Regions from separate parts of the Homo sapiens genome. Here regions 2, 3, 4 and 5 are each linked to region 1. The links are contacts of gene promoters, found by promoter capture Hi-C in blood cells and fetal thymus (Javierre and others, 2016). All regions are on one chromosome and are shown on one strand. The core of a region is centred on a gene start or on the middle of the fragment in contact, and the rest is flanking DNA. Distances in the headings are between cores, read along the strand shown.

Region 1 (4,160 bases), core at 873-3,372:
AGGCATGCACCAACACAACCGGCTAATTTTATATTTTTTTAGTAGAGATGGGGTTTCATTATGTTGGTCAGGCTGGTCTCGAATTCCTGACCTCAGGTGATCAACATGCCTCGGCCTCCCAAAGTGCTGGGATTACAGATGTGAGCCACCGCGCCTGGCCAGAATAATATTTAATACTAAACAGAGAAGGAAATCTGTCAGGAGTGAAAGAGCCTCCTTGTTGCTAGAATAGATATTATTTGACTCTATATCTGTTACGTTCGCAAAGAAGTTACCAGGACATGAATATATACAGTAGTGAAATGAAAACTTACAAAATTAATATCCACATCTATCTGTCTATCCCTGACCAATACAGCAACCTGCTGATAGATCTCTACACAATGCAAGTCTGATGCAAGGTGAAACCGCAAATCTTGCAAATGCTGCAGGATTTCACGAGGTTCATGAAAGTGAGGTTGAAGAACAACTAGAAGAGCATGCAAGCCACTGAGAAATGAAGATGTGGCAGTTAGACTGGAGGAGAGTGACAGAAATGAAGGCATGAGAGCACTTCAGAAGACACTGAGTGCAACAGTAAAACGCTTGGAGACGGCTCTGGGATAACGGATGAAGTCTTTTTTTTTTTTTTTTAAAGGGGGAACAGAATAGCCTTTTTTGATCAAAATGCGTAAGTGAACCTCTGTGACGCAAAACCATATTGTTCTCTTATATTGTTTTGTTGCAAACATTATGCCAAAGATGACGATAAATGCTTAGGTGAATAATGTCTGGTTTCCATTGTAAGATAATATTTCAATCAAAGCTTTTATTTTTCTATTTCATGTGAAATTCTGATCCCCTTTTAAGTGGATTCACTTAAAGTGAAAAGACCCCCTTATAGGGTCTTTTATTAGTACCATTTATCTTTCTCTGAAGAGCACGTCTTTCTGCAATACATCCCTGCCCACATGCCTTTCCCATTCCCTTTTTTCTAAGTACAAAAATTTGGAAAATCCTCTCTCACCTGCTGTCTTAGTCTTCCAGTCTCTTTCTCCAAATGCACTACCAGGGCCACCGCTTCCTCTCCACTTTGCGGACACTGCTTCTGTGCCCAAGCCTGAATCTTCTCGGGTAAAATGGTGAGAAACTGCTCAATCACCAGCAGCTCAAGTATTTGCTCCTTGGAACGCATTTCTGGCTTCAGCCACCGGCAGCAAAGTTCCCAGAGTTTACTGAAAGCTTCATGGGGTCCAGTCACATCCTCATAACAGAATTGCCTGAAGCATTTGCGGAAGGTCTCAGAGCTATCCGATCCTTCCAGAATGGGCTCTGATGCCCACTCAGGGTCCTTTTCCACCTTCATTATTAGGCATCCCTCAACCTCCAGGGGCGCGTCGATCTGAGAGTCGAGGGCGACAGCCATGCTGCAGCCCAGGGGTCAACTTCACGTCTAGCTCAAGGTGGGGACCCAAAGAAGACTCCAAGCGCTCCCTGCTTAATGTTCCTGGGAGTGTGATAAGGTACGGAGGTAAAAACGGCCAGGTCGGCAGGAACAGGGTATTCCAGGCTGATTAATCAAATCTATGCCAGGCCCTTGAAAAGGTGAACGTATACTCTAAGATGCAAAAGCCTGGCCTCTTCTCCAAACAAGATGTGACCGCGCAATGTGGTTTTCCAGAGTGCATCCCTCTTAGTGCAAAGTCGGAAACCGGGAGGCTGGACGACTGGGAGAAAAATGAAGCAGGCTGAGGAAAGGCTGGGCGGAGGCGGACAGCCGGGCCGGGAGGGGGTGTGTCCGCTACTCCCGGGTCGGGCGCGGAGAGGCGAGTCCCCGAGTGGGTGGGGCCGGATGTGCAGGCCCCGCCCGGCGCCAGGTTCCGGGCTCGGGTCACCGCAGCACGTCCAGGCCGCCGCGGGTGCCGCTGGGGCCGCCGGATTCCGAGAGCGGCGCCGGGCTCTTTCGGGCCCACGACGGCCCCGACCGTCCTGAGGAAACCGCTGCCGCCGAGGAAAGGCCGCAAAAACTGTTCCGCCCGGAAGGGAGAAGAGCTGCGGGGCGAAGCCAGGGCTCGCAGGGGGCAGCGGCAGGCTGCTCGCGTTCGGCCTCGTCCACTCGGCCCGCGGAGAGCGCGGGGGGCGCTGGGAACCGCAGTCACGCATGCGCCGCCTGCCACCGAGCGCCGCGGGGCCCGCGCGAGGCGTCCTGGCGGGCGAGGGGCTGGGGGAGGGGGGGGGGGCCGTGCGGTGGACTCTCGCGAGAGCGCGCGGCGCGGTGACTCGTCGCTGAGGGACTTTAAGATTGTAGAGGGGCGCGGAGGGTCCTCCCCGGGGCGGAGGGACACAGAGGGATTCTAGGGAACCTGCCGTCGCGAGTCCCGCTTCAGGCGGAGAATCTAGGCGGCGGCGGGGCCTCCCTGAGGCGGAGGAGTCGGCACCGGGGCCTGGCTGCCGGGGAAGGAGAGCACGGGAGCGGGGACTCCTGTGTCTGGCGGAGGGACACGGCGTTCCGGTGGAGGGATCTGTTCCTTGTACCTGGTCCAGGGTTGCGGTCGGGGATGGAGCGGTTACCCCGACCCTGCGGGACCTTCTTCCTCTGGCGGAGGTGCACGGCGCGGCGTGGTGTTTTTCTGGCGGAAGTATCTGTGCGTGGCCCCAGGCCCTTCCCGGCGCGGTCTCATCTGGGGCCACTTGTTGGCCCTCGCGTTGGGGAGGTTCATGTGGTGCATCCTGATGAGAAGGGGGGTCACAGGGGTCTCGGGGCCAGGGTTCAGCCAGCCAGGCCCCAGCTTGCTCTCTTCTGGTGCTGCCCCTGTCCCTGAATTCATAGACCCGGCTTTCCCTCTCTTGAGCACCTACTATGTGCCAGGCTGCGCTTTGCGCATGTAGCAGAGGCAACAGTGTCACCTGGGAAGCTGGTTTCCCCCAAAGGAACTCTTGTCTGTCCGTTGTTGCAGAGCCAGCGCATGAGACCAAGTGTGAGTATCAGGCAGTGCAGCCTTCATTCAGTGGCCATGGAATTGGAGAAGTGGGAGGGTAGCTCGCAAATCAAGCTCTCAGCTCTTGGAAACTGAGAAGTTACAGGTAATAGGGAGTGTTGACGAAAAGTAAAACCGTGCAAAATATTTGAAGAGATTTATTGTGAGCCAAATACGAGTAACCACAGCCTGTGATACAGCCCTCTCGAGGCCCTGAGAACATGTGCCCAAGGTGGTCGGGGTGCAGCTTGGTTTTATGTTTTAGGTTGGCATGAGACATCAGTCAAATACATTAAATACATTGGTTTGGTCCAGGAAGGCGGGACAACGCAAAGGGGTGGGGGTGGGGGCTTCCAGGCTATAGGTAAATTTAAATATTTTCTAGTTGACAATTGGTTGAGTTTGTCTGAAGACCTGGGATTGATAGAAAGGAAGTGTTCAGGTTAAGATAAAAGATAGTGGAGACTAAGGTTCTTTTGAAGTCTTATGGTGGCTGCTCTTAGAGATAATAGATGACAAATGTTTCCTATTCAGATCTTCAAAAGGTGTTAGACTTTTAGTTAATCCGTTTAGGATTGGGAGGGCCTGGAAGAAAAACATCTAGCTATGTTAATAGATGTTCTTTACAGATGCACATTTTACCCCACAAAGGATAGCTTTTGGGGGAAAATGCTGTCCTTTATGGAAGAAATTGCAAAATAGGGCAAGGAAACATGTTTTGGGGTAAAATATTTTGACTTTCTTTTTGTCACGTAATGTTATGCCAGAGTCAGAATGGAAAGTAAGTCATCATATATAGGATTAAATAAAACCCATCTGATGAGAATTTATGGTTTGTAGGTCATGACTCCCCAGATCCCTTAGATAGGAATTTGGGCAGGATTAAAAAAATCAAGAGTTTAGGCTGGTCGTGGTGGCTCACGCCTATAATCCCAGCATTTTGGGAGGCCAAGGCAGGTGGATCGCTTGAGGTCAGAAGTTTAAGACCAGCCTGGCCAACATGGCGAAACCCCGTCTCTACTAAAAATACAAAAATTAGCTGGGCATGGTGGCACACGCCTGTGATTCTAGCTGATTGGGAGGCTGAGGCATGAGACTCAACTTGAACCCGGGAGGCGGAGGTTGCAATGAGCTGAGATTGTGCCACTGCACTCCAGCTTGGTTGACAAAGTGAGACTCTGTGTCAAAAACAAAACAAAACAG
Region 2 (4,160 bases), core at 1,054-3,553, 2.3 Mb after region 1:
CAATTCTCCTGCCTGAGCCTCCCAAGGAGCTGGGATTATAGGGGTGTGCCACCACGCCCGGCTAATTTTGTATTTTTAGTAGAGATGACGGTTCACCATGTTGGTCAGGGTGGTCTCGAACTCCTGACCTCGGTGATCCACCCGCCTCAGCTTCCCAAAGTGCTGAGATTACAGGTGGGAGCCACCACAAGTGGCCAAAGCTTTCCTCCCTTTAAGATCTCATCTTTCCATCTCTCCTTAGTTATCTCTCTAATATCCTAACCCATTTTCATGGTTTGCATTACCGCCTGCATGTTAACAAGTCTCACCTTTGAATCCTCAGTCCTTTTTCTCCAAATACAGATCCAATGTCTTCACTTGTCTATTAAATGCCTCCCATTCCAAATATGATTACCTCTCCCCAGCTCCAATTAAGTCCCTTCTTTCCCCTCTTACTACCGCTTTCTTCCATGTGCCTCTTACAACACCATGGAGACATTTTTCATTTGTGCTTCTTTCATGCAGTTAGCCAAGCTTGTCAAGTTTTTTTTTTTTTGAAAAAAAAAAAAAATACATACATATATATATATATAATTTTTTTTCCCCTCACTATGTTGCCCAGATTGGTCTTGAACTACCGGGCTCAAGTAATCTGCCCACTTCAGCCTTGCAAAGTGCTAGGATTACAGGTGTGAGCCACCTTGCCTGGCTGCTTGTCGAGTTTTATTTTGAAATCTCACTCATATCCTACACTAGTCTAATTGCGGCTAAATCCTATGTACATGTTTCAGCCCTTTCCTTCCTTGCCCCCTCTGTGTTATCTGCACCATTTAACCCTCCATTCCTTTTTTTTAAGACTTGAGTTTTGATCTTGTCACCCAGGCTGGAGTGCAGTGGCGCAATCTCGGCTCACTGCAACCTCTACCTTCTGGGTTCAAGCGATTCTCCTGCCTCAGCCTCCCTAGTAGCTGGGATCACAGGCACCTGCCACCACACCCAGCTAATTTTTGTATTTTTAGTAGAGAGAGGGTTTCACGATGTTGGCCAAATGATCCACCTGCCTCGGCCTCCCAAAGTGCTGGGATTACAGGCATGATTCACCACACCCAGCCCAACCCTCCGTTCTTAAATGATCCTGTCTCCTCCCAAACTTCCAGAACACCACTCTGACCTGACTGTCCTCTACCTCTCCAGCCACACCGCCTCAGTCTTCTTTTGAAAGTCCCTCACCCTCCATCCAGCCTTGAAATGTAGGTGCACTGCAGAGCTATATCTCAAGACCTCCAACCACACTACACTCTCTCTTAGGGCTGATCTTAGCCAGCTGCTTTAATTACCAGCTGCTAGGAATGACTCACAGATGTCTAGCTCAGTCCCTCCCTCTGGCCTGCTTTCACTCCCACGAAGCCAGATGTTTACTAATTAAGACTCTTCACTTGGACAACTCAAAAGAACCTGAAGCTAAATGTGTCACATGTCTCTTCAGCAAAGTCCCCACCTCCCCCAGACTCAACCCCCACGCTGTTCTTCCGTGTTCCCAGCCTCAGAGATGAGAATCAGGGTTCGCTCAGGTGCCCAAACAGCAGCCTACTATGTCTTGACTGCCTGTGCTCTTCATCCCCACGCCCACCATGGTAAGCCAGACCATGACTAGATTACTAAAAATCTCTCAACTTCACTCTTTGCCCCTAGTCTGACCCTCTCTTCAGTGACTTCTCACTGTCCTTTTGATAAAGGATAAGCTTTTTTTTTGAGATGGATTCTCCCTCTGTCACCCAGGCTGGAGTGCAGTGGCACAATCTCGGCTCACTGCAGCCTCCACCTAGCTGGGATTTCAGGCGTCTACCACCACGCCCAGCTAATTTTTGTATTTTTAGTAGACATGGGGTTTCACCATGTTGGCTGGACTGGTCTTGAACTCCTGACCTCAAGTTATCCGCCCACCTCTGCCTCTCAAAGTGCTGGGATTACAGGCTGATAAACTCTTTAAGTAGGTTAAAAGACTTGATTCCAGTCCAATTTGGCTGGAATCTGAACTCAGACCTTCCTCAAAGTCTGGGTTCTTCCCTTGCTAGTTGACTTTTAGCATGCCACTTGACCCCTCAGGGCCTCGATTTTCTCTTCAGGAAAATGGGGAGAATATTACCCATCTCCTAAGGTTTCTGTAAAAATTAAATAACATGTTGTATTAAGGATCTTAGCACAGTCCTAGCTATTCCTCATTCCCTACCTCCAATTCCACACTTCAGCCACTTACTTCACATTTGCTGTTCTCTGTCCAACAGTCCTCTTTGCCAACTGGCTGCCTAAATCCAACCTTTAAGTTTTGTCTCGAACATTATTTTATTTTATTTTTGAGACAGAGTCTCACTCTGTCACCCAGGCTGGAGTGCAATGGCTGAATCTCAGCTCACTGAAACCTCTGTCTCCCAGGTTCAAGTGATTCTCCTGCCTCAGCCTCCTGAGTAGCTGGGATACAGGCATGCGCCACCACGCCAGGCTAATTTTTGTATTTTTAGTAGAGATAGGGTTTCACCACGTTGGTCAGGCGGGTCTTGAACTGCCGACCTTGTGACCCATCCACCTCAGCCTCCCAAAGTACTGGGATTGCAGGCATGAGCTGCTGCACCCGGCCTGTCTTGGACATTATTACCTCTTGGAACCTCCCCTGACCCTCACAATATGGCTTAAGAGCACAGACGCTGAAAATAGCCTGGGTTCAAATCAATTCTTAGTCACTTATTGCCCCCAGAACCTTAGGTTACATAATCCCTCTCTGTGACTCAGTGTCTTCCTCTGTAAAATGAGGACGATAACAGCACCTACCTCATAGGTGAGGATCAAGTGAATTTAATCTCCTGTTTAACGGAGTTTAATCAAGTGAGGATCAAGTGAGTTTAAGCTCCTAAAGCTTCTAGAATAGATTCTTAGAACAGCAATGTGGCCGGGCGCCGTGGCTCACGCCTGTAATCACAGCACTTTGGGAGGCCGAGAGGTGCGGATTGTCTGAGGTCAGGAGTTCGCGACCAGCCTGGCCAACATGATGACACCCCATACCTACTAAAAATGCAAAAATTAGCCGGGCGTGGTGGAACATGCCTGTAATCCCAGTTACTCAGGAGGCTGAGGCACGAGAATCGCTTGAACCTGGGAGGCGGACGGAGGTTGCAGTGAGCCAAGATCGCGCCACTGCACTCCAGCCTGGGCCACAGAGAGAGACTCTATCTCAAAAAAGAAAAAAAAGAACAGCACCTCACCCATGAAGTCCCTGATAAATGTCAGCTTTTAGCATTATCGCTAATTGTCCTGATACGCAGATCTCGAGTTGCCCTAGGCTATCTGCACCGAATGAATATACCATGAGGGTCTGTTGATCTCAGGAGTCTCCAGTCTGGCTCTAAAGTGTCTTTCCTGCTCTAATCCTATCCTCCAATGTAAAGGAAACATTCTTTTAAGCCTGAAGAATATCCCCAATCCTGTTCGCCATTACCCCAAAACACACACAGGGACAAAACGGGACATCACTAGATTCTCCCCCTCCCCCCGCCAACTCCATCGGACTCCAGGGCCCTGCCAGGCCTGAGGGACCCCAGATTAGCCTTACCGCCGTGCCCCAACTCAATCAACAGGCCTCCGGTACTTGCACAGCCCCACTCCATTCCCCCGCCCTGCCCCCAGCTCCATCAGCCCCCGGGCCCTGCGCCCGCCCGCCCGCCCGCCAGGCCAGGCCGCCCGCTGACCGGTCCTGGAGCTGTAGGTCGGGTCGCTCCCGAGGCTCCTCATAGAAGCTGATGCCCGGGTGCGTGGCGAGGGCCCGCCAGAGAAACTCCTGCGTGCAGGGTTCCAAAGGCAGCGGGAAGGGCGGCACTCGCGTCTCCAGCCGGCTCCACAGCGCTGGCAGACACAGGCCATCGAGCCCCTCCAGAGCGACTTCGTCCAACAACGACTCCAGCGCGTCCATTGCTACTTCAGTCGGCGGCGCCCGGGGCGCATGCGCAACGCACCGCCAAGGGCCTTGGTCCATCGCGCCTGCGCACAACGATCCGGGGCCCGGGGAGGTGGGTCAGACCCAGGGTTCGGAGGAGGAGTTCCAGCGCGCCGGCATGACGTCACTCCCCGGGGGCGGGCTCAGTAAGTGGAGCTCCACCGTCATTGGTCCGGGGCCCCGCAGTAACCAGGGG
Region 3 (4,160 bases), core at 820-3,319, 2.1 Mb before region 1:
TGTTATGTTGAGACCTGTCGTTTCATTGCTTGTACTGATAAGGCCACCCAGGCCCAGGACCCAGTTTGTGCACCAGCAGTGCAGGGGTACACAGAGTTCACAGTCAGTGGAAGTCAGAATTCTGGTTCTGCTCCCTCAACCTCTAGCTAGTGGGTGAACTCAGTTCCCACATCCTGAAAGGCTAGGAACTACTCACACCACATCCAAGTCTGCTTCCAAGTCTAAAACTTCATGATTCTATCAACTTTCTCCCTCAGAGGTGTGGAGCTTTGCTAAAACTCAAGTGATGGCATTTGATGGACCAGAGAACTGACCAGGAAGGGATGTACTTTTTATTTTATACTCTGTCACAAAGCTAAATGTGACCTACACAATTTCATTTTTTCCAAGGGACACCCTGAAGTCAGTGTGCTTTGTGGAAAACACTGAAGTATCAGTATACTAAAGAGCTTGACACTAACAAGAAAAAAACTGTGTACCATGGGTTTGCAGCATAGCACCAGAACCCCCAGCATGAGTGCATGGAAAAGCAGGCTGGGAAACTCAGCAAGTGTGAGCCTCTGATTGCCAGGTTGTTCACCACTAGTCTCTTATACAAGTTTATTCCTTTTGTGACTTGAGAATTCTCACTAATAAATAAGCACCACAAGGCACCAAAGTTCAAGGAAAAAAAAATGGGAGAGAGAATTCTATTCATCAATTACCATTTGTTTCACTGCAAATCTGGAAGGAGTCCCCACAATTCTTTTATCAATAGATCACTCTGTGCTAGCTGTTCTTTGCCAGCACAATTTAAAAACTGCTGCCATAAAATTTATCTTTCTTGCTTGAAAGATGACCATCCATCTTTTTACTTGCTGCAAAACGGCTCTGAGCTCTAAAACTCAGAAAGCATTTGTAAGAATCTGGGGCACCCATGCTCCTATGAAAGCAATAAGCTGATTCCCTTTAAAATGGCATATTATGTATTCAAAGTGATTTATTTACTCTCACTATTTTACTAGGAAAGTGATGCAAGGGTCCTGCCAGTGAAGCCCAAGTTTTACCCTAGTGCTGCTGCAAACACATATACACACTCAGAGACAGAGAAGGAGAAAGAGAGAGGGAGAGGTTGGGGGGGGGGAGAGAGAGAGAAAGAGAGAGCGCGAGAGATAACAAGGTAACCATTTTAAAGGCTGGGGAAGTAAAAGGAAACTTGCGCTGAGTCTCCAAACTTTCCTCCAAACAGTTTCTCAGCCTCAGCACTACTGACACTTTGGGGTGAAAACCCTTTAGTAAGGGGGGCTGTCCTGCACATTGTGTGACATTTAGCAGCATCCCTGGAATCTACCACCACATGCCAGTAGCACCCTGATCCCAGCTGTGACAACCAAGTAGGGTTCCAGACATCGACAAATGTCCCAGGGGGTGGGGGCAGGGTGGGGTGAGGACAGGCAAAAGTGCCCGTGTTGAAAACCAGTGCTCTAAGAGTAGGAAACAAACAAACAAAAAATCTGTGTGAAAAGAGAAAGGATAAAGGTAATGGCTAGAGACATTTTTTACAGCATATCAAGGTTGAGCTAGTCAACTCATTTCATCCTGGGAAATGAAAACCCAACTTTAACAACCATCTAGCCCATCCAAAACCAAAAACCATCTACTTGGCAAGCTCCTAAAACTCAAATCAATGTGGTTAAAAAGGAAGAAAGAACTCTAATTGAAAAACTTACAAAGAAAAGCATTAGTAACTTAAAGTTTTAAGATAATAAAAGCACAAAGACATAGTAAGTGCTTTTCTAACCTCAAGGTAACTATCTCAAGATGGCAAATTGGTTTTATCTCCTCTGCCAACTTCAACTAGGTGGTGGTGGCTGCCTGGAGCCCTTCTAGAACTGAGCAGGATTCTAAGGCTGAATGTGAGCGATGTGAAAGTGAAGAATATCTGAATGAAATAACGATGTCCACCCCAAGCAGGCGAAGCACAGTGAGGTATGCCTCAGGTCCACCTTCTGGTGTTTACCTTTCTTTTTTTTTTTTCCTTTTTTTGAGGCAGAGTCTCACTCTGTCACCCAGGCTGGAGCGCAGTGACATGATCTCTGCTCACTGCAACCTCCACCTCCTGGGTTCAAGAGATTCTCGTGCCTCAGCCTCCCGAGTAGCTGGGATTACAGGTGTGTGCCACCACGCTCGGCTACTTTTTGTATTTTTTTAGTAGAGATGGGGTTTCACCATGTTGTCCAGGCTGGTCTGGAACTATTGGTCTCAAGTGATCCACCCACCTTGGCCTCCCAAAGTGCCGGGATTACAGACATGAGCCACTGCGTCCTGCCTTAGCATTCAACTTTCTTTATATTCAAAATAATACCCATCAAATTTAGCTAAAATAAAACCTTTTTTTAAAAAGTAATCAATTTGCCAGAGTTACCTAACCGGGGGAATAAAAAGGGGAAAAGAATCTAATTATATCACTTCCTTGCTTAAAAATCACCTCTGGATTTTCAACTTGCAGAGGATGAAATCCAAACCAGCATAGCTCACGAAGCCCTTCACAGTGAGTTTCCAACACTCTTCTCCCAGGCTTCCTGCACCCCCACTGCTCTCTATGGTGCAGCCAGCCACTAAATGTCTATTCCCCAAAACCACACGCCCTTTCATGCAACTCCACCACTTCCTTGCCCTGCAAATTTCTATTCATCTTTCAGAACACTGCTCAGGAGCCACCTTTTTGGTAATGCTTTCCTTGTTCCTTGATGCCTGCTATACACAGGATGGTCCTTGAGCCAAAAGCACTGGCATCACCAGGGAGCTTGTTAGAAATGCAGAATCTTGGGCACCGCTCCAGCTCTACCGAATCTCAATTTCCTTTGTAGCAAGATCCCCAGGTGAATTATGTGCACACTGACGCATGAGAAGCGCTGTCTCAGGGAACTTCCTAGATCCTACTCGACTCAGCTCTTCATAGCTCCCTGGGAGGTAAACCCCTCCTTTACTCATCTCCTCTGTGAAGACAGGAAAACCCAAATGCCCACCCTCCAGCCTCCGTGACAGCCAATTGACATGGTTATAGCCAATGAAATATCAGCAGAAGCCTGCTGAGGGGGCTTCTGGAAGAATTTTTATTTCCCTAATGACTTCCTGCCGTCCTGGGTAGAATGCCAGGTGCAGTGGCTGCCATCACTGGACAACCATGAGGTGACAAACCTAAGAACAAAAAGCCAATGATAGCTAAAAAGACAACAGGTGGAAATACAGAAATGGTCTGAATCCTTGTTGGGCCCAACGAGCCACTGAACCATAGAACCATCCACCTCCGGAATCACTGTGTGTGCCAATTGCCAATTGCAACGTTTTCATTGCTTAAGGCACTATCATTAGGGATTTTCCTTTCTTGGGCTGAAGGCATTCCTAACTGATTAAGTAAGCCTTCAATAAATGGGAGGTGAATGAATGAATGTAGAGTGAAACCTACTAAAGGTTCAGGAGATTACTTTTAAAAAGCCAGGCCTCTAAGAATCTGTTCATGTCTGCCAAAGCATGCCTATAAATCAGTCTCTGTACTTCTAGAATTATTGACCCATTTCTGTTCACAGCTTAATGGATAAAAAAGTGAACACAAACTCATAAAAAGCAATGGAAATGTTCACATACAAAGATGCTGTAGAAACTGATTTTCACATTTTGGAAAAGAGGAGAAAACCAAACTTAAATACTAGGCTCTGACCTCGAAAAGTTTACAAATGCTGTGGCTACTTACAGGCAATTGTAAGCAAAGAGGGGCAGTGTGGGGTGGGGGGCGGGGGGTGGACCTACAGTAGTCAGTTCTCCTGATCATTCTCCCTTTCTAATTTTGAGATCTCAGCTGGGCACGGTGGCTCACGCCTGTAATCTCAGCACTTGGGGAGGCCGAGGCAGGTGGATCAAAAATTAACTGGGCATGTAGCGGGCGCCTGTAGTCCCAGCTACCTGGGAGGCTGAGACAGGAGAATTGCTTGATTGAACACAGGAGGCAGAGGTTGCAGTGGGCCGAGATCAGGCCACTGCCCTCCAGCCTGGGCGACAGAGTGAGACTCCATCTCAAAAATAATAATAATAATAATAATTTTGAGATCACTGACATAGATCTTTTTTTCCAGTCCCTATCTCAGTCAAGTACTTCCATTCAAATTGCCAAGATCAAACAG
Region 4 (4,160 bases), core at 1,173-3,672, 2.1 Mb after region 1:
CCAGCCTTTCCAATTCCAAGCTGTGTGACCATGGGAAAAGTGTTTGCCCACTCTGGGCCTAAATTTCCTCCTTGGTAAAAGGCACACAAGAGCAGTACTCTGCACGCCACAGTGGTGGGGTGAGCAGCAGATGACGTGGTGGGTGGAGGCCAGGTGACACCAGGCTGCTCTCAAGCTTAACTTGCCTGTGATGGTGGCGGGACCGTGTCAGTTCTTCCACCAAATCCCACCTGTTTCCACGACGTTTATTGACAAGTCAGGGGCACCGCCCCGGGTGGAGGGGGTGTGAAGAGGAAGTCAGCTCCCTGGTCCCTGCTGCCCTCTGGTGACCACATCAGCATCAGCACCTGCTCCATCCCAGCAGCTCCAGGTCCAGGCCGTGCCCAGAAAACTTGGCCTGGGAGATTCCCCACCCGCCCTGCCCCGATCCCACCTCTCTTCCATCTCTGCATTTTCCAGAAATTCCCCCAGCACCAGACAAAAGAGCCTAATGTCCATTAGATATGCTGTGTGGCGCCAGGCCAGCGTGTAACCTCTCTGTGCTTGATTCGTTATCTGTAAAATGGGAATCATTATAATATCTGCCTCATGTAGCTATTGTGAGAATTAAATATGTTAGTACCTGTGAGGTCCTTAGAACTATGCCTGCGGCTGGGCACAGTGGCTCACGCCTGTAATCCCAGCACTATGGGAGGCCAAGGTGGGCAGATTGCCTGAGGTAGGCGTTTGAGACCAGCCTGGCCAACATGGTGAAACCCTGTCTCTATTAAAAATACAAAAATCAGCCAGACATGGTGGCGGGTGCCTGTAATCCCAGCTACTCGGGAGGATGAGGCAGGAGAATTGCCTGAACCCAGGAGGCAGAGGTTGCAGCAAGCGGAGATTGTGCCACTGCACTCCAGCCTGGGCAACAAGTGGGACTCTGTCTCAAAAAAAAAGAACTATGCCTGCAAATAGTTAATGCCTTAAAAGTATTTGCTAACATTCTTCTTCTTCTTCTTTTTTTTTTTTTTTTGAGACAGGGTCTTTCTCTGTCACCCAGGCTGGAGCGCAGTGGCCCAATCCCGGCTCACTGCAGCCTTGAACACCTGGGCTCATGTGATTCTCCCACTTCAGCCTCTCAAGTAGCTGTGACCACAGGTGCACACACCACTAAGCCTGGCTAATTTGTTTTTTAATTTTTTGTAGAGACAGGGAATCACTATGTTGCCTAGGCTAGTCCCAGACTCCTAGGGTTCAAGCAATCCATCCACCTCGGCCTCCCAAAGTGCTAGGATTACAGATGTGAGCCACCATGCCTAGTCTGCTAACATTATCCTTAATATTACACTGAATATGTCTGTGGATTTTGTGGGAGGTGAGGGTATAAAACATAATTAGAGGAAATAATGACATTCTAAATTTAATTTGACTTTATTACAAAAAGGGCAGAATGGAGCAACAGTAATCCAGGACAAAAAATTGTCCCAATCCCATCATTCAACCCACTTGTGTTTGTATCTGTTTGTGCCACTTCTGTGTGTTGTTTACATGCAGAGTCAGTGTTTGCGTATTTGCGGTTTTATATCATTCATTTCTCATCATACATACATATATTTATATTCCTGACATTTTTCTAGGGAATATCTTTATATTCCTGACATTTTTCTCTTTTTCCCTTATGTTCTTCCATACCGGGACTTATAGGACCTTGCCCAGACTCAACTTCCCTCTTCCCCATGGACCCAAGTTGCTGAGCTTCCAACAGGTGTTTACAGCAAAGGAGAATGAGACAGAGAGAAGCAGAGATGCAGAGAGAAAGACAGACAGAGAAGACTAAACTGATTGATCCCAACTCCATTATGATATCTGACTCCAACCACAGAATGACCCTGATCCAGCCACAGACTGACTTCTGATCCTGGCCACAGTCCACCTCCTGTCCTCAGCCACAGAACAGCTCTGACTCAAGCCAGGAACTGAGTCCCGACCCATGTTACTGACTTACTCATGATCCTGGTTGCAGGCTGGCCCCAGCCACATGCTGACCCCTGACCCTCACCACAGATGGATCTTTGATCCCAGCTATAGGCTGATCTCTGATTCTGGCTGCCCTGAACCACCACTCCTATATACTGATGACCCACCTTAGCGTGATCCCACCCAGGAACTGGCATTTCCTGGGACAGGCTCTTGGCCACCTGCTGCTCTGCCCTGGGCACACCAGGCCCTACGCATCCTCCCCCTTCCACCACCATCCATGATTTCCTGATTTCTAGCAGCAAATTTAGCTTGAGTTGGTCAACATAGCTGGGCTGCCTGACCTTCCTCTCTGCCATGGAACCACAGAGCAAGTCAGCAGTTCTCCTTCCTAATCAAAAAGCAGCATGGAGGAGAAGGCTCCTTTGCCACCTTCCTTTCTGCTTTGGATGGTGCTTTTGCAATCATGAGGAGACAAGCCTGGAGATGAAAGGAGGCATTCTGAATATGGTGGAGTGGAAGAAGAAGAAGGCCTGCCTGGGGCTTTGATTACATCACCAAGTGATCAAACCAACCTTAAATTCTTAAATAAACTGTAAGTGTGCTTTTCTTTAAACCACTGTGAGTTTTCTTTTGCAGTCATAAAGCAACCTTAAAAATTGTAGTAGGTACAATAATGAACCCCCCAAGATGTCCATGTCCCAATCCCTGGAACCTGTGAACATGTTACATTACATGGCAAGGGGGGGATTAAGGTTACAGATGGAAGCAGGGTTGCTAATCAACTGAACCTGAGATGTAGAGGGAGATTATCCTTAATTATCCAGACAGGCCCAATATAATCCCAAGGATCTTCATAAGTGAGAGATGCAGGAGAAGCCAAGTCAGAGAGAGATTTCAAAATATTATGCTGCTGGCTTTGAAGATGGAGGGAAGGGCCATGGGCTAAGGAATGCAGGTGACCACTTGAAACTGGAAAAGTCAAGGAACAGACTTCCCTAGAGTTTCTGGAATGAACACAGCCTTGTTAACACCCTGATTTTGAGCTCAGTGAGACCAGTTTCAGACTTCTGACCTCTGGAATTGCAAGATCATAAATTTCAGTTTTAGGCCACTAAACTTGTGGAAATTTGTCAGAGAAGCAATGGGAAATGAACGTGCAGGTGCATTCACGCATCCAACTTTAGGCTCTGGACTCTTCCTCAAGCTCCTTCCCCAATCCCCATCCTCTCCCTCTTTATTGGCACTCAATCTTCACTTCCAGAGGATCCTGCCAAATTCCTGCCCATTCCATATCGGCATCCACCCTTTCTTGTTAGAGTGGACGTAGGGCAGGCTGGCTCCACAGCTGTGCGCCAGGCAGCAGCCCGTACCCCCCTGCTCGGAGGACCCCTACTCTTCAGTGTCATGCTCTGAAGTCCCAGTTTTGAAATTCTTGGCCAGGCGCAGTGGCCCACACCTGTAATCCCAGCACTTTGGGAGGCCAAGGTGGGCGGATCACTCGAAGTCAAGAGTTTGAGACCAGCCTGGCCAATATGGTGAAACCCCGTCTCTACTAAAAATACAAAAATTAGCCAGGCATGGTGGTGCATGCCTGTAATCCCAGCTACTCAGGGAGGCTGAGGCAGGAGAATCACTTGAACCCGGGAGGTGGAGGTTGCAGTGAGCCAAGACTGTGCCACTGCACTCCAGCCTGAGCAACAGAGCGAGACTTTGTTTCAAAAAAAAATAAAAAAAGAAAAAGAAATTCTTAAAAATTTTATCTCTGAAGTTGTGTTTTATAGGGAGGTTTAATGGGACCAAGGAGCACCCATTGAGGGCTTGGAGCCTCAGCTCACACAGGGTCCCACCTCCTGCCTGCTTCCCTGGGACATCTGCCACCTGCCTGCTTCCCTGGTACAGGCTCCTGGCCACCTGCTGCTCTGTCCCCAGCACACCAGGCCCTACTCATCCTCCCCATTCCACCACCATCCATGACCATTGCTGCCTTCTGCCCTTGAAGGAGGCCTGGGCACAGGTGCAAAGGATCATCAAGGTCAGTAGCTCACCTCACGGGACCTTGGGGTGGAGCATGGTGACAGCCATTCCTACCCCAGAGGTATCTGCTGGGCAGCCAGAAGCCACAACTCAGCCCACTTCTAATCCAGGAACCAAGAGTGACCATCTTGATTTCTCAGCCCTTTTGTTTTTTCTTTTTGAGA
Region 5 (4,160 bases), core at 1,175-3,674, 2.1 Mb after region 1:
GAAGCATCAACCGTGTGGGTGTGCGGATGTGTGAGTAATGAGTGTGAGGGAGTATGAGTGTGGACGGGAGTGGAAGTCACACCTAATCCAGAGGATTCCTATTCCTCCTGAAACCCAAGCTTCCAGGAAAGCCCTTCCTGTGGCCTTCTCTCCCTAGTCCTCTTAGCGTCTGCCTGGGCTGCCCCCAGTACGGGGTTTATTACACTCAATTGCTTACATCTGTTCACTTCAATTGCTTACGTCTGCTCACTTGTCAGTGCCCCAACCAGGTCCTCAGGGCTAGGAAGCAGGGGCTGGATCTATTTCTTGCTCTCCCTAGCCCCCAGCTCACGACTTGGCATATGGAGGCATCCACAAACAGATGCCGAAGGATGGGAGTTTTTCCACACTCCCACGCCACCTCCAGGTATTTGCTCATGCTGTCCCTTCCACCTGCATGTTTTTCTGCATTGATTCAGGCACTGGTCAGAGGTCACCTCCTCCAGGAAGCCATCCCTGACCCCAGGGAACTGACTTATCTTTACTGTCACTTCCGGGGGTGGGTTGGTGGCTGTCTTGCTCACTTGGTTGTAAGGTCTCAGAGGGCAGGGATTGTGTCTGTTTCATGTCTTCAGGTCTGCGTCATCAGCGCTTGTCACAAGGTTAGACACACAGTAGGACCAAGACAGACCAAGTACATGAAAGAATGATTGACATATGGGCCAGGCGTGGTGGCTCACACCTGTAATCCCAGCACTTCGGGAGGCAGAGGCAGGCAGATCACCTGAGGTCAGGAGTTTGATACCAGCCTGGCCAACATAGTGAAACCTCATGTCTACTAAAAATACAAAAATGAGCCGGACGTGGTGGTGCACGCTTGTAATTCCAGCTACTCAGGAGGCTGAGGCAGGAGAATTGCTTGAACTCAGGAAGTGGAGGTTGCAGTGAGCTGAGATCACCCACTGCACTCCAGCCTAGGCAATGGAATGAGACCCCATCTTCAAAAAAAAAAAAAGAATGATTGACGTGCAGTGGCCCCTGCCCTGGGAAGCCAACCCTCACCCTCCACCACAGCACTTGATCCCATTGGGCAGTCCTTGGCTTCCACCCTCAAACTGAGAGCTCCTTGAGGGCAGCAGGGGGTCAAATTACTCTCTGGGTTCTCAGCACTGCCCAGTGTGAGTCCAAATATCTCCCACCTCCCCTGTCTCCGCTCTTTCCTCACTCAGGGCTCCACAGCCATGCCGGCCTTCAGCAATTCCTCCTGCAGGCTGAGCTGGTTCCCACAGGGCCTTTGCACTAGCTCTTCCCTCTCCCTACACAAGTCTTCCCCCATAGGCTCTTCAGAGTCTCAGCTCAAATGGCCTCTACTCAAAAAGCCTCTTCCAGACCACCTGCCCCACTGGTCTAAGAGGTCCCTACTTTCTTCTTGGGCCCTCCTGACCTGAAATACTTTGTTGAGTGTTTTCCCCCCAGTCATCTGGCTGCATCCGGGTTCTTATGGTGTCCAGACGTTAATGGTCTATGGGGCCTGTGTTCGAATCCCAGCTCCACCCCTGCTCCTGCTTACCTGCAGAGTGATTCTGAGTTTCTTTCTTTTCTTTTTTAAAATTTTATAAATGTCAATTTTTGTAGATAGGGGTCTCGCTAACAGGGTTGCCCAGGCTGGTCTCGAACTATGGGGTTCAAGTGATCCTCCCGCCTCAGCTTCCCAAAGTGCTGGGATTACAGGCATGAGCCACTTTGCCCAACCCATTTTGAATTTCTTAAGGACTCTGTGCCTCAGTTTCCTGATTTGTAAAACCGGTGATAGTATCACTCCCTTATAGGGTAGTTGCCAGGATTGAACGAGTTAACATTTGCAGTGCCCGACAGATTGTACTAGTTACTGATTGAAGGGCTGTTTTACTATCCAAATGTGGCTGGAGTAGGAGTTGGGTAAACATTTATTGAAGAATGTGCAACCACTCTCACTTGGAAGCCGGGCTGTTAGGAAGGGGAGGAGGATTCCAGTCGCCCAGCCCTCCCCCACCAAACGCAACTGCCCCGGCGCAAAAGAGGCCGCGGAGGCCAGGCAGGAGCAGGTCCTGGAGGCCTGGTCGGCGTGGGCGTTTTATTCCGAGACCAAGGGGATCCACTGCAGAGTTCTCCGCTGGGCGTGACCTCGGGCTACGGCGTGGGAGGAAGCGCGCGGCAAGACACCCAGCGAGGTGCTGGGGTCGCCCCCAGGAGAGGACGGCGGCTCGGACTGTCCGGCGGCGGCGGCGGGGACAGCGACAGGGGCGCGAGGTGGCCGGGACCCGGGCCGGGCGCGCCGGGCGGGGCGGCGCATGCAAATCTGCCGGGCGCCGGGGCGGGGAGCAGGAAGCCGGGGCGGGCTGGGTCTCCGCGCCCAGGAAAGCCCCGCGCGGCGCGGGCCAGGGAAGGGCCACCCAGGGGTCCCCCACTTCCCGCTTGGGCGCCCGGACGGCGAATGGAGCAGGGGCGCGCAGGTAGGATCCGGGGCCCGCGCGCGGATCGGGTTGCGAAGGTATCGCCCGGGCACGCCGGCTGAGGGCGTTCGGGAAGGGCTCGGCCGCCGGCGGGGACCACGGGGACCACCCCGACTCCGAGCGGGGCCCGAGCCCGCGACTCTCGGTGCGCGCGGAGCAGCGCCCGGTTCCGTCCTTGCCGCCGAACGGCAGCGGAGGCGCGAGGCCCGGGGTACGTGGACACCCAGCGCTCCCCAAAGCCGGTGCTGGCAGTGAGACCTCCGCCGGGACGGCCTGCGGGGGTGGGGGGCTTGGGGTTAGGCTGTCGGAGGCCACGCAGCCCCTCTTCTCCGGGCAGTGGCGCCCAGCCCTGCGCTCAGGAAGTCAGTGAGGACTTCGGAGAGAGAAAGGGTGGGGAAAGTTCTGAGAACTGTAAATTTGAGTAGTAGGTCAGTGAATCGGGGCGGTCTCCGCCTCCGAATATCAGATGGACCCAATAATCGCGATCATTGACTGGGACTTGTTTTACTGAAAGGATGCCAAGTGAAACCTCCCACTAACTTCTCTGTGGCCGGTGCTGTGCGTCATGGACATTGTACAGATGAGGTCACCAAGACCCCAGCCGCTTTAGTAACTTGCCCTAAGGTGCCGCCCACTTGGGAGTCCGTGGGGCAGCAGGACTAGAGCCCAGGCAATCCCACGCCAGAGCCAGCTGCTCTCCATCTCTCAATCACGTTTGAGGAGCCCCCACAATAACCAGAATCTCCGGGAGATTTGCTTAAAATGCAGATTCCCAGGTCCTTGCCCTGAGATTCAGATTCAGTAAACCCAGGAATCTGATCTTTATTTTATTTTTAAAAATTTATTTTATAAAGATGGTGTCTCACTATGTTGTCCAGGCTGGCCTCAAGTGATCCTCCCACCTCGGCCTCCCAAAATGCTGGGATGACAGGTGTGAGCCACTGAGCCCTGATTTTTTTTTTAAACAAAATCTGGATTTCTTAGACTTAAGCAAGATAGGGGACCACTAGTTTGTCTGCTTCTGGGGTTCAAGGAATGCCCCCAGGCCAGCGCTAACCCTGCTCCAGTTCTAGTCTCTCCCCTTCCCCAGCCCTCTGGGAGGCATGACCCACTGCACTTCCCTGCCCCCAGTAGCCTATGAGGAGCCCAAGGCATTTGCTGGGACCTCAGTGCCTTTATCAAAATCCCAAAGTCCAATGGGGAAACAGGCTCAGGTGTAGGTTTGGCCAGGGTGTCCTGCACATTAGGGCATTCCAGGGTCCTGCAGGGGTTTCTTAGAACTCGGCTAGCCCAGCCCATGAATGGGAGGTGACCTGCTAAGCCACTCATTCACTCACTAGCACTCATTCAGCTCCTGCGAGGCCCTGGGTGGTGTTCTGGGCACTGGTGCTTGCCTCAAGGAGCACCCCCTCTGCAGGAAGACAGACGTGAGGGCTGGGAGGGTGCGGATGCACCAGCGGCTGCAGGACCACAAGCCAGAGGGGATCAGCTCTTCAAAGGTCACTGGGCCAGGCTTCCCAGCACCCAGGGACCCTGAGCTAGCCTTGTGAGTAGAGCAGGGGAGTCTGGCAGGTAGAGGATGGGAGGTAAAGGGAGGCACAGAGTGGGCGGAGGCTGGGAAGTGTGAAAGGGCACTGTGTACAGAACCTAGGGAGTAAGCAGAAGCCAGAGATGGATGGAAAGTTGGGC

The links. Contacts are between HindIII fragments. The CHiCAGO score rates a contact against its expected background, and 5 or more counts as called.
Region 2: a fragment that was not itself captured here is called in contact with the fragment with the promoter of ZKSCAN2 in region 1 in 2 of 17 cell types (naive CD8 T cells and total B cells); the score reaches 6.6 in naive CD8 T cells.
Region 3: a contact is called between a fragment that was not itself captured here and the fragment with the promoter of ZKSCAN2 in region 1, in 1 of 17 cell types (naive CD8 T cells). The highest score is 5.3, in naive CD8 T cells.
Region 4: a fragment that was not itself captured here is called in contact with the fragment with the promoter of ZKSCAN2 in region 1 in 1 of 17 cell types (total B cells); the score reaches 5.9 in total B cells.
Region 5: the fragment with the promoter of IL4R here is called in contact with the fragment with the promoter of ZKSCAN2 in region 1 in 1 of 17 cell types (endothelial precursors); the score reaches 7.1 in endothelial precursors.

The regions. Positions count from the first base shown.
Region 1 is chr16:25,255,723-25,259,882 of GRCh38, forward strand. It overlaps ZKSCAN2 (zinc finger with KRAB and SCAN domains 2), which reads right to left and starts at 2,123. Exons shown (of 7, transcript NM_001012981.5): 1 at 1,007-2,123. The coding sequence starts at 1,405. It overlaps ZKSCAN2-DT (ZKSCAN2 divergent transcript), which reads left to right and starts at 1,855. Exons shown (of 1, transcript NR_170220.1): 1 at 1,855-4,160. RefSeq lists enhancers at 1,489-2,049, 2,465-2,784, 2,905-2,984 and silencers at 1,735-1,974, 2,055-2,254. The HindIII fragment of the contact is 3,031 bases long and covers 1,220-4,160 here.
Region 2 is chr16:27,545,951-27,550,110 of GRCh38, forward strand. GTF3C1 (general transcription factor IIIC subunit 1) reads right to left here and starts at 3,963. Exons shown (of 37, transcript NM_001520.4): 1 at 3,720-3,963. The coding sequence starts at 3,940. RefSeq lists enhancers at 3,860-3,939, 3,950-4,059. The HindIII fragment of the contact is 1,169 bases long and covers 1,720-2,888 here.
Region 3 is chr16:23,142,473-23,146,632 of GRCh38, forward strand. The region is part of intron 1 of USP31 (ubiquitin specific peptidase 31); the gene reads right to left. Among named protein-coding and RNA genes, the nearest start is that of USP31, 4.9 kb to the right of the region's middle. The HindIII fragment of the contact is 4,574 bases long and covers 1-4,160 here.
Region 4 is chr16:27,367,989-27,372,148 of GRCh38, forward strand. No RefSeq gene overlaps it. Among named protein-coding and RNA genes, the nearest start is that of IL21R, 32 kb to the right of the region's middle. RefSeq lists a silencer at 1,826-2,026. The HindIII fragment of the contact is 4,499 bases long and covers 174-4,160 here.
Region 5 is chr16:27,311,550-27,315,709 of GRCh38, forward strand. It overlaps IL4R (interleukin 4 receptor), which reads left to right and starts at 2,425. Exons shown (of 11, transcript NM_000418.4): 1 at 2,425-2,471. RefSeq lists enhancers at 1-815, 1,638-2,368 and silencers at 2,146-2,445, 2,466-2,675, 3,116-3,165. The HindIII fragment of the contact is 16,225 bases long and covers 118-4,160 here.